2 separate regions of the Homo sapiens genome follow, and region 2 is linked to region 1. The links are contacts of gene promoters, found by promoter capture Hi-C in blood cells and fetal thymus (Javierre and others, 2016). All regions are on one chromosome and are shown on one strand. The core of a region is centred on a gene start or on the middle of the fragment in contact, and the rest is flanking DNA. Distances in the headings are between cores, read along the strand shown.

Region 1 (5,847 bases), core at 2,816-5,315:
AGTACATAAAGAAGCTTTGGAAAATATAACGGAAGTAATACCAGTTCTCATCTCTCCAATAACATAGGCTTTTAAAACATATCCCAATTTGACTTAAATATGAGTTTATCAATAATATCTACATCAAGCTGATGAATAAAAAGCCCAAAACAAAGAAACAAAAAATTCAACAAACCTAAACAAGCAGCCATGATTTCAAACCATTCCCAATATTAACATGGTTAGTTCAGCAGTAATTTGTTGTCTTAAAACAAGCATTCTTCAAAAGAATGATAATTGTTTGGAGAAAAAAGAAAAGCCATGCTGTCATTTGATCTACCAAGCCACCTCTAAAGATAATCAGGAACAAATGAAAACACTTATTAGAAAGAATGTTTACAGAAACATTTTTTATCATACTGAAAAACTGGAAGCAACATAAAACTCCATCAGTAGAAGAGTATGCAGCTATTGAAATTAAAGAGCTATAATTGGTAATATTAAAGATAACATTTATTAAGCTAAAAAACAGGTTATAGAACAGCATATAAAACTGCATACATATATCAGTATGCAAAATTCAGAAATATCTTTGGAAGTATTATCCCTGAGTACTGGGATTTTGTGGGATTTTTACACTTCCTCTGGAAAAAAAAATTCAGAAAAATCACAATGATCTTGTATCATTTTTATAAAAGATCACACTTGTATCATTTTTATAAAAGATCACACAATCTACAGCAAATATGCTCAGTAACTATATAGTGCCCCATAATTGTGTGGTTTAACCTTTCTGAAAGGCAGACACTATCACAACTGCAAATGTACATTCACTTTGATTTAGCAATTCTGAACACAGGTATTTATACTACAGTTATTCTCACACAAGCGTGAAAAGACACATTTTTGTTCAAGAATGTTCACAGCAGCATTGTTTATATTAGCAAAGTACTGGATGTGACCTAAATATCAACCAATAGAGACTAGATAAATTATGTACATTCATACAATGAAATACTGTATAGCCACAAAACAGAATGAGGTAGCTATGTGTGTTGGAGTTGAATGACATCCAAGGTTAGAAAAATAAATAAAGATAAAAAAGTATGTAATCAACCACTAGACGGAGGGCTACACAAACAAGCATGCTTGTACATAGACAAGTATGCTTGTATTTGCATAGACCAACTCTAAAAGGACACATAAAAAACTGTAAATAGTGGTTGTCAGCGCATTAGAGATCTAGAAATCAGGAATAAGACTTTTTATTCAAATGTAAACCAACAATGTAAACCAATTTACACTGTTTGATTTTTTTTAACATGTCTATATGCTACTTTTAAATTTTAATGGCTTTTAAAAATTAGGTAGTGAATTATTTTGCTGTCGTATAAATAGATTCGTGTAAGGGAAGTTAAGGTTTTCAAGTATCAAAATTATGCTATCAAGGCAGTTGCTTTTAAGGGTTAAAAAAATTCTAAACTACTTTTTGCTGCTTTTAGTTTATTACAATCAACAAAAATTATACACAATCAAAAACCGGAGCCCTTCTTCTGGACAAAGGTGTTTACACTGTTGCTAGCCAACAAATCCACATCTGTTTAATCTAGTCCTTGTTCTTCACTCTCAGTATTGAAGCAGTTTTAAAAATGTGTTTTCTCTCTTGCTATATTTAATGCATGTTCTTATAAAAGGATTATCTATTGACCACAAACAAATATAGAATAAGGGAACAGATTTGCTCCTTTCCACTGATATTAATCCTTCCAGGTCAGTTTAGCCTAGCCTTCTCTGACAGAAAAAGTGAAATGACTGCCTAGAACAAACAAGACCATGACTCAATAAATATAGTAATTTCTACTCCAAGGTTGTTCTAAAAAAAAAAAAAACAAAACAAAAAGCTAAGAAAAATGTATTACATTTAACCATATTCCCAAGTAGATTAAGCATAAGCCTAAAGGCTCAGATCAGCTACCACTAACATGCTCTGTAACTCTGGGGAACCCATTTCCCAAGAATTTTAAGTTACTCCAAATAAGAGAGAAAATACTGCTTAACAGAGTAACAGAAGTCTTTTATCACACTTTTTCAATCTATTACCAAACATCATAGAAACACTCAACAAAGTCATACTGGAAGACTTACCTAATCAAAACAGGTCTGTCAATGCTGGTTTACTCAACACCAGTGCTTATAATGATGTATCAAACTTCCTGAAAATAAGTGGTAGACATTTAGAAAAACAAAGAAGCTGAACTCACCTTTGACACTTTTTCTATTAACATCTGCCCCCTTTTCAAGTAAATACTGAGCAATCTCTTTATGTCCTTTGTAACATGAAATCATCAAGCACGTATGCCCATGTCGGTTTGACACTTCCAAATCAGCTTTGTGTTCTACAAGGTACTTCACTATTTCCAAATGGCCATCGAAACACGCAGCTCGAAGAGGAGTTGAATTGGTTAAAGTCGTGTTGTTGACAGATGCTCCATGATTTAACAAGGACTGGACCACCTTCAGATGTCCTGCTGCAGAAGCGGCCCATAAAGGGGGAGCCCCCTCAATGGTTTCGCCATCAAAATTGACGGAGCCCCCAACTTCTATGGAGGCACTGCATTGCTCTAGGAGGAATTCCACCATGTCAAGGTGCCCATACCTGGCGGCCATCAAGAGTGGCGTGGCCCCATTTGTTTTTTCAGAGATCAAGGAGGAAACCTCCTCTTTGGATTTGCTTGCCAACAATTTGGTGAGAAGCCGGAGTTTGCCATCCCGAGCTGCGTTAAATACTGCTGTCTTTAGATCCATTTATGTCCAGTTGAGAGGCTGTGCTTTATTTATCTTTCAAAGCAGAGCTCCAGTTTAACTCTATCGACACAGGCAAGAGTCACAGGAACCAAAGTCCAATGTTAATTGCTGCACCCCAGAACGGATACACAACCACGAAGAGTATGTTCCGTCCTACTGCTTTCCAACATCTGACAACCAGGGCACCAAACTAGAGAAAGAAAAAAAAAGTAGCAGCATTTAATTTTCTATAGAAGAAGGCAAAACACTTCTTAATTTCCACTTCTGTGGGAAGAAAGGAATAAAAGCTATACTTCAGGCACTACTCCATCCCACACACCCCCCCCACCCCCAAAGAAAAGGTGGTAAAGAAAAATACAGAAGGATACACAGAGACCCAAATGTTCTGGTCGCAGGCAGTCTCCTCCATGTGCGGAAAATTTAAACACTACAGGCAGCCCGTTTTCTCGCCTCCAGCTCTAACCAGCCAAGCTTTGTTCTAGTTTTGCTTTGCACACGCCCAGGGAGAGTACAACCGAAAGAGGCAGGAGACTCGGGTTCAGAAATGTTTCTCTTTCTTGCAACTGCAGGAGAGCTGGCCAAGGGCGCCAGGCTGGAAGGCCTGAGGCCGGGTTTCGAGAAAGAACAAAAAGGTCGGACACACCAAACCCCGGCTAAGGCCAAAACTGTGCCCCGAAAGATTCTCTTTCCTTTAAAACTACTCACGGCTCTCAGGAAATCCGCCTGCCTTTTAGTCATTAACTTCGCCCGCCCCATTTCGATCACCCCCCACCCCCCGCCAAGGGATGATCCGCAGGTTCCTCAAACCACAGTCGCCCCAACACAACCTTCCCCTCTCCCTGTTCCAGACAACGGCAGCCCCCTCCCAATCTCCTCCATCGACCACAACCCCCTCCCGATGGGCCAAGCTGTGGCCTCCAGCCCGCTGCCCGCCTTCGGCTCCCCCGGCGCCCTCCTTCCCGCCCAGGCCTTCCGCGGGCACCTCAGGCCCCGGCCCGAGCCCTGGCAGGCCGCTGCCGCCGCCACTACCTGCCCGGGGACTAGTCCTCCCCGCCGCCGCTGGTCACTCGGGCTTTGTCCGTCCCCTTCAAAGGGAAACCGTTGTCCCCACCGCCGCCCGGGCCGCCCTGCTCCGCCTGCGGCCGCACAGCTCCTCCATGCTCCGCGCCCCAAAGGAATGAATCCGGCCGCGCTGTTCGCCACGCCCCGCCACCCGAGCTGCCTCCCGCCCTTAGTCGGCTCGGACTGCAGCGGCTGCAGCGACTGCTGCGACGGATGGTGTAATGGGCTGCGAGCCGGGGGCCGGACAAGCCTGAGCGTCACATCACTGACTGTGCCGCCACGCCATTGGGCCGGGGGAGGGCGGCGGCCGCGGCCAGCAACAGCCTAGGCGCGGGGCGGGGCGTCGCGGCCGGGGTGGGGCGACGGGGAGGGGGCGGGGCCTGAACTACTGGGAGGACGTGCCTGCGTGCAACGCGCTGGGGGGCGGGGCGCTGCGAGGGGGCGGATCTGTGCCCATCGAAGCGGCCCGAGGCAGCTCGAGTTCTGAGATCTCGCTGGCTCTTCTCCTCTCGGATTTTCGGGGTGCTCCCTTAGGGAATCTTTCGGTCCCATCTCAGAGACCCCAGAAGGGAAGTGTATTAGTGCGTTTTCACGCTGCTGATAAAGACATACCCGAGATTGGGTAATTTATAAAGATAAAAAGATTTAATGCACTCAGAGTTCCACGTGGCTGGGGAGGCCTCACAATCAAGCCAGAAGGGGAAAGGCACGTCTTACATGGCAGCAGGCAAGAGAGGAAAATCAGAGCCAAGGAAAAAGGGAAACCCCATATAAAACAATCAGCTCTCCTGAGACGTACTCACTACCACCAGAGCAGCATGGGGGAAACAGCCTTCTTGATTCAATTATCTCCCACTAGGTCCCTCCCACAATATGTGGGAATCATGGGAGCTAAAATTCAAATTTGGGTGCGGACCAGTATTACCCTCACACACGTGAAGTCTCTCGGACTAGTCTTCCGTCCTTACTTTGGTGGGCCCTGGAAATTACCAAGCTCGTAATTACACCTCAGAACACACACGGAGGAAACTGAAATTTCAGAAAATGTGATTAGTTTTGGAGGCTGTCAAACTGACTCTCTTTCTAAAGTAGCCTCTAAAAAGCATAAAGGCTACGAGGAATGGTAAACCCTAAGAGCAATGTAAAGTCAATGAGGTCAGGTTCTTGAGCTCTGAGTAATAAATCGGGAACTAAAGCTTAAAAGGTTATATATATGAATGAAAAGAATTACTTCTTCATATAGTAGTTGATAAACCTCTGGAATTTGATGCTAAAACCTACGTTGCATTAAACTAGGATGAAAAAGTTTAAATGTGTTTGGGAAATAACGCCCATAATGAATCCTGATGAGAAAACAGAATTTTTGAAAATGGACCTTCAATCACTTTGTTTGAGGGAACTTAAGCTCACATAATTCCTTAGTACCACTAGGAGAAATAGAATATTACAGTAGGCAGTCTGACCCTCAGCATATGTAATCCATAACGTTATGTTAGAAGTCATGCAGCACTAAAAACATTTATAAAAAATCACAACTTCATTTTTGTATATTGTAGTGTTGTTCAGAAGTTTATGTAGTTTTGCATAATTGAAATAATTTTCATACAACTATATATTTTGCTTTTCCTTTCTATACTCTAAACGTTTCTTATGTTTTTACAGTCTTAATAATTTTTAAGTATAGCATAGTATTTCCCTTAGGTAGTCAGTATCAGACTACACTCAACATCAGATTCCCAAAACTGAAGTTAAGGTAATTGCCACTGAGAAGAAAATATAAAAGAATAGAGTATAAAGGATAAGATTGACCATCCATAAAAATTAACCAGCCAAGAGGACTGGCTGTTTTATCCCCAGCATATGTCACAGTTCTATACTCTCCCAGGGTACAGATAACAGTGTACAGTGTCCCAACCAAGGCCTAACCTGAGCTGACCTGTCTCTCTCACCTAATTCAATAAGATGTAAACATTCACATCAGCCATCTTCAAACTGAGCTCT
Region 2 (5,811 bases), core at 1,109-3,608, about 44 Mb after region 1:
AGTTTGTAGATTCAGAGGTTTGAAGAATTGCCAAAATATGGGACAATGTCATCTGCCTAGAGCAAAGGAGTATATTGGAAGTTCTGAGGTTTGAAGAGAATGGAGTTTTTAAGTAGTAGTTTGGGGAAAGCATGCTGAATAGAGAAGGGCAGTAACTGGGCATGCTTCATTAAGAACCTGTATTCTGTCATGTGGGGCAGATTCTAAATATTTTCAGCTCTCTTACTGCAGGCAAGATAAAGGCAAAGGAGTAGGTATTAGAAGAGAGAGACAAACTTCTAGAGGGAACTAAATTTTTGAAGAGGATTGTCTTCCAACTGGGAAGAGAGGGAAAGCTTTTTGAGGGGAGTAGATCTGAGCTGGGCAAGAGAACACACTTGCTAGAGAAAGAAAATGGCCAGAGAGAGAAAAGGGGAGAAAAAAGTCTGGGGGAGATGGAGATAAAAGCAGAGTAGTGGGGGATTTCTGGCCTAGGTGCAGGAATGTCCTTTTATCTTCCAAAGTAAATGTGGTCACAGTAATATTAACAGTTTGTCATCTGATGTTGTGAAATTGTTTCCATATATTATTTAGACTCTCAGACCTGACAATCTATGGAGGAATTCCCAGGCATCTTTAGCTGCTACAGAGATGCATGAATGAAGGACAAGTATATTATCCTCCACACATTAGAAGAGAGGCTCCAGGGAGCAACAGGAGGCAAAAGTTCTTCTTTTCTTTTTTTTTTTTTTTTTTTTTGAGATAGTCTTGCTCTATCACCCAGGATGGAGTGCAGTGGCATGATCTTGGCTCACTACAACCTCCACCTCCCAGGCTCAAGTGATTCTCATGCCTCAGCCTCCCGAGTAGCTAGGGTTAAAGGCACATGCCACCACACCTAGCTAATTTTTTTTATTTTTAGTAAAGACTGGGTTTCACCATGTTGGCCAGGCTGGTCTTGAACTCCTGACCTCTAGTCATCTGCCTGTCTTGGCCTCCCAAAGTGCTGGGATTACAGGTGTGAGCCACACTGTGCCCGGCCAACATTTATCATTTGTGTTGAGACTATCCCAACCTTTCTCCTCTATTTTGAAATACAAAATAAATTATTGATTACTATAGTCACCCTACTGTGCTGTGGAACGCTACAACTTATTCCTTCTGTCTAACCATATTTTCGCTCCTTTTAACTTCTCTTCATCTCCTTCTCCCTCCTTATCCTTCCCAGCCTCTGGTAACCACAATTTTACTCTCTATCTCCATGGAGTCAACTTTTTTTTAGCTCCCACATATGAGCACCAAACTTCAATGTAAGACCCAAAACTATGCAGCTATTCCAAGAAAACGATTTGAGAAAATGCTTGAAAATGTTGGTCTGGGCAATGATTTTTTTTTTTTTTTTAATTAAGACTTTCTGAAGAAAAGGGCATACTTTTCACTGAAAAAGTTTGAGTTTTTTAAATGAGCAGATACTCATGCATTACTAGTGCAGCCAAAAATTATCAAAAGTAGGGAAGAATGCAAAATAGCGTGTGCCTCTTAACTAAAGAACTGTTAAGATACAAAACTTGGCTCTTTGCTGCCTTTCCCGCACTGCCAAGAGGGAAACATGAATTAGTTACATTGCCGTGGTGCTCACTGGGAGTTCGCTGTATGGACCAGATGGGTACTGCTCCGAATTTCCATTCAAGTCTGACATTCTTTTGTCAGCGTTTGTGTAACCGGTTTTCCTTGCATTCAGAGGAAAGACAGCATGGAAGTATGGATGGGAAGGTTGAGACGATTGGATACTGTATGGTAACCTCGATCGCAGCTCTCCTATGAGACTTGCTTCTTGGATTCTGAGTCACTTAAGCTTGCCCCTTCTCTTTCCTGACCCTCTTCCGTTTCCCCTTAGATTGGAGATTCTCCTCAGATTCTAAGTCTCTGAAATTATTAGTGTTGGCAGCCCCTGGGCCCATGGAGGGGTCTCAAGTCTTCAGTTCTCAAAGATCACCTTTTAAGCTTCATTCGGAACATGACACAGCCACACGAGTCCTAGCCCTGAATCTCACGAAGACCTCAGTACACCTGGAAAAGGCAGCACACCCAGTTACGACACTACTAGAGACGTCACACGCCTCAGCACCCATCCGCTCCCAGCCCAGAACGAGCGCACGCGCAGAACGAGAGAGCGGCCACCCAGGGATCGGCGCTATCTGCACAGCGGTTACAGTCTCGGAAAGGCCTGGCTTCTTCGTGGCTTTGTGGAGATCCCTTACAGCGGCCATTTGATTAGCACCCGAAGAGATTCAAAGGAAGCAGTTGTTCCGTCCCCAACATATTTCCGTTTCAAACCACCCACTTCCGGTTTTTCAGCCGGTTCCGGTCCCGCCCTTCACTTCCGGTCGCTTTCGGTCTCTCAGCGGCCGGTTTCTGCGTCCGCTGCCGCAGGTTCCACCGCGCTCCAGGTGAGGGGTTGCGGGGCACCCTGGCGCGCTGCCCTTGGAGACGCTGTTGGGGCTCGGGGACAGTGGCTTTGCGGCCCGCGCGGCGTGGCTTGCACTGCGGCGGGCTGGGGATAGTGTCTGTCCTAGTCTGACGCCCAGGCCCCTAGCCCCGGCCCGCTTAGTCGCGGGGGCCGCTGTCCTCCCATCCAGCAGTCTAGCCTATTTGGAGGGCTTTCTGTTTCCCAGTGGGTTTTGCGTCCCCAAACTTCATTCCTCCGTCTTCTCAGGCTTGTCCATCCCTCCCCTCAACCTCCTTGTTGAAGGCATCCCGGCCTTTTTGGTTCTGGAGCCTCCACCTGCCTCCTAATGCTCCCCTAAGTCAGTTAGCACAGCCCCCGACCCTGCACCACCTCGCAGTTGTTGCTGGTGTGCGGTTCTCGCCGGAGTTCTTAGTGCTTCACGGTTATCTTTTGCTGGGATTGTTGAAAGTTAACCTCCCGTTAATTCCCAAAGTGTTACTTTTACTGCTATACTTTAAAATTTCTTCATTTGCCACTTTTTAGGTTTGTGGTCCCGGGCAAGTTTAATTTCTTTTCAGGATTCTCATTTGTATAATGAGGACAACAGCTGTTGGTTCAGGATTGTGAAGCTTCAATGAGATAATTGTTTAGCATGTTTTTATTCCATCATGAACACCATTTGTATTGTGTTTTACAGTTTACAAAGTGCTGTCACAGGTGTTACTTCATACCTTAACACTACTCCTGTCCAGTGAATATTAGTAGCCTCATCTTGTTGAGAAGACTGAGGCCAAGAGGTGGATTGACTAGGCAAAGTCAACACAGTATGTTAGGTAGAACTCCAACCTAAACAGCTATTCTTGACCCTAGGTTGACCATATGGAAGTGTATTCTTTGCTTGCTTGTTTGGGTTTGCCAACTTCACTCCTCCCCACACCCCAAATCATTTTTCAGCTTATAAATCTGATGGGATCTGAAATGATACAAAATACTAAGAAAGAAGGTTAAATGTGAAAGCAAAATAGCTCATGCATTTATATCACACTGCTTCATTGGTGTGAACGGTCTTAATGATGAAATAAGGTTCAGTAACTTTTAAACAAATCTTAAAGACATATGCATTTACAATTTTTATGGTGTTTGTTTCGCTTGGCCCTTTAAGGCATTTGCCAACTTGGAATTTCCACTTGTGGGATAGGTGCTTCGTAACGTTTTTATGCTGCTTTATTAACCATATAGAGCCCATGCCCTCTGGCACATTTTTTTTAAGGCTGAAAACATTGAAGAGCCTGTAGTACTGACTCTCAAATTTGAGCATTCATCAGAGGTGAGGAGGACTGACCTTGTTAAAACACAGATTCCTAGGTCCCTTCTCTCCACCCCAATTACATTTCTACCAAATTACCAAGTGAGGTCAATGCTGTTCGTTAGCCCAGGGACCATGCTTTGAAAACCACTAGTCTAGAAGAGCAATCACTTGTCCAGGGTCACCTGGAACTCAGATGATTTCACTCCAAACTCTGCACTACTACGCATCACAATATATGCGATATTAGTGCTGGTTGCCTTTCTAGCTCTCGTAGGATTCCCTTTTATTCTTATGTCTTACAGAAAATATTTAAACTGTATTTCAGTTTAACTCAAAAGGTCCACTTTTAATTGAAGAATATAACATTTGTTATAGTTCTGTCTAAAATGGAATACGTTACCCTAAATTAAGACACTTGCTTTACATTTTCAGTAGAACACATTGTAAACATAGGAGTAAATATACATTTATAGTTCATATTTGTATTCATATATGAGTAAATATAAATATGAATTTATGGCTCTCTCTTCTAATTGGCCTTTTAGTAGGAGACACTGTTTTTAAATTATTTTTGGAAGTGGAGATTAAAAATTTAACCTCTTTCTTGCAGTTGGTCCTAATAGTTGCATGAAGAGTGCAATCAAATGTTTCATCAAATAAGTGAAAGCATTGGAAATACCAATACCTTGAGATTAGAAAATCCAGTTCTCTGGACTGTGGGAGGAATGAGTTTAATGAAAAATAGAAAGCTTTATGCAGGAAGAGACATATGTTTGGTTATTTACATGAGTGGCAGCCACTATATAATCTTTGTGTGCTTAGATCTGTACCCATGGGTTTTGTATTTTCTGATTGATATGGTTTGGCTGTGTCCCTACCAAAATCTCAACTTGAATTGTATCTCCCAGAATTCCCACTTATTGTGGGAGGGACCCAGTGGGAGGTAATTGAATCATGGGGGCCGATTTTTCCCGTGCTATTCTTGTGAATAAGTGAATAAGTCTCATGAGATCTGATGGATTTATCAGGGGTTTCCGCTTTTCTGTCTTCCTCATTCTCTCTTGCCACTGCCATGTAAGAAGTGCTTTTTACCTTCTGCCATGATTCTGAGGCCTCCCTAGCCATTGTGGAACTGTAAGTAGCTGGGATTACAGGCGCCCACCACCACCTCTGGCTAATTTTTTTTTGTATTTTTAGTAGAGATGGGGTTTCACCACATTGGCCAGGCTGGTCTTGAACTCCTGACCTAAGGTGATTCACCTGCCTCAGCCTCCCAAAGTTCTGGGATTACAGGCATGAGCCACTGTGGCCAGCCTTGGGTATGTCTTAGCAGCATGAAAACAGACTAATACGGTAAATTGGTACTAGTAGAGTGGGGCATTGCTGAAAAGATACCCGAAAACGTGGAAGCAACTTTGGAACTGGGTAACAGGCAGAGGTTGGAACAGTTTGGAGGGCTCAGAAGAAGACAGGAAAATGTGGGAAAGTTTGGAACTTCCTAGAGACTTGTTGAATGGCTTTGCCCAAAATTCTGATAGCTATATGAACCATAAGGTCCAGGCTGAGGTGGTCTCAGATGGAAATGAGGAACTTGTTGGGAACTGGAGTAAAAGTGACTCTTGTTATGTATTAGCAAAGGTACTGGCAACATTTTGCCCCTGCCCTAGAGATTTGTGGAACTTTGAACTTCAGAAAGATGATTTAGGGTATCTGGCAGAAGAAATTTCTAAGCAGCAAAGCACTCAAGAGGTGATTTGGGTACTGTTAAAGGCACTCAGTTTTATAAGGGAAGCAGAGCATAGAAGTTTGGAAAATTAGCAGCCTGACTATGCAGTAGAAAAGAAAAACGCATTTTCTGTGGAGAAATTCAAGCTGGCTGCAGAAATCTGCGTAAGTATCAAGGAGCCTAATGTTAATCCCCTAGACCGTGGGGAAAATGTCTCCAGGCTATGTCAAAGACCTTCATGGCAGCCCCTCCCAGCACAGGCCCGGAGGCCCAGGAAGGAAAAAAGGTTTCGTGGGCCCGGCCCAGGGTCCCCGCGCTGTGTGCAGCCTAGGGACTTGGTGCCCTGTA

The links. Contacts are between HindIII fragments. The CHiCAGO score rates a contact against its expected background, and 5 or more counts as called.
Region 2: a contact is called between the fragment with the promoter of UBLCP1 here and the fragment with the promoter of FEM1C in region 1, in 1 of 17 cell types (fetal thymus). The highest score is 22.8, in fetal thymus.

What each region holds. Positions count from the first base shown.
Region 1 is chr5:115,540,710-115,546,556 of GRCh38, forward strand. It overlaps FEM1C (fem-1 homolog C), which reads right to left and starts at 4,066. Exons shown (of 3, transcript NM_020177.3): 1 at 3,814-4,066; 2 at 2,241-2,974. The coding sequence starts at 2,784. RefSeq lists enhancers at 3,615-4,381, 3,923-4,217 and silencers at 3,647-3,816, 3,867-3,916, 4,017-4,356. The HindIII fragment of the contact is 1,787 bases long and covers 3,254-5,040 here.
Region 2 is chr5:159,260,932-159,266,742 of GRCh38, forward strand. UBLCP1 (ubiquitin like domain containing CTD phosphatase 1) reads left to right here and starts at 2,359. Exons shown (of 11, transcript NM_145049.5): 1 at 2,359-2,429. RefSeq lists enhancers at 1,584-2,091, 1,926-1,995, 2,026-2,335, 2,092-2,599. The HindIII fragment of the contact is 1,074 bases long and covers 1,982-3,055 here.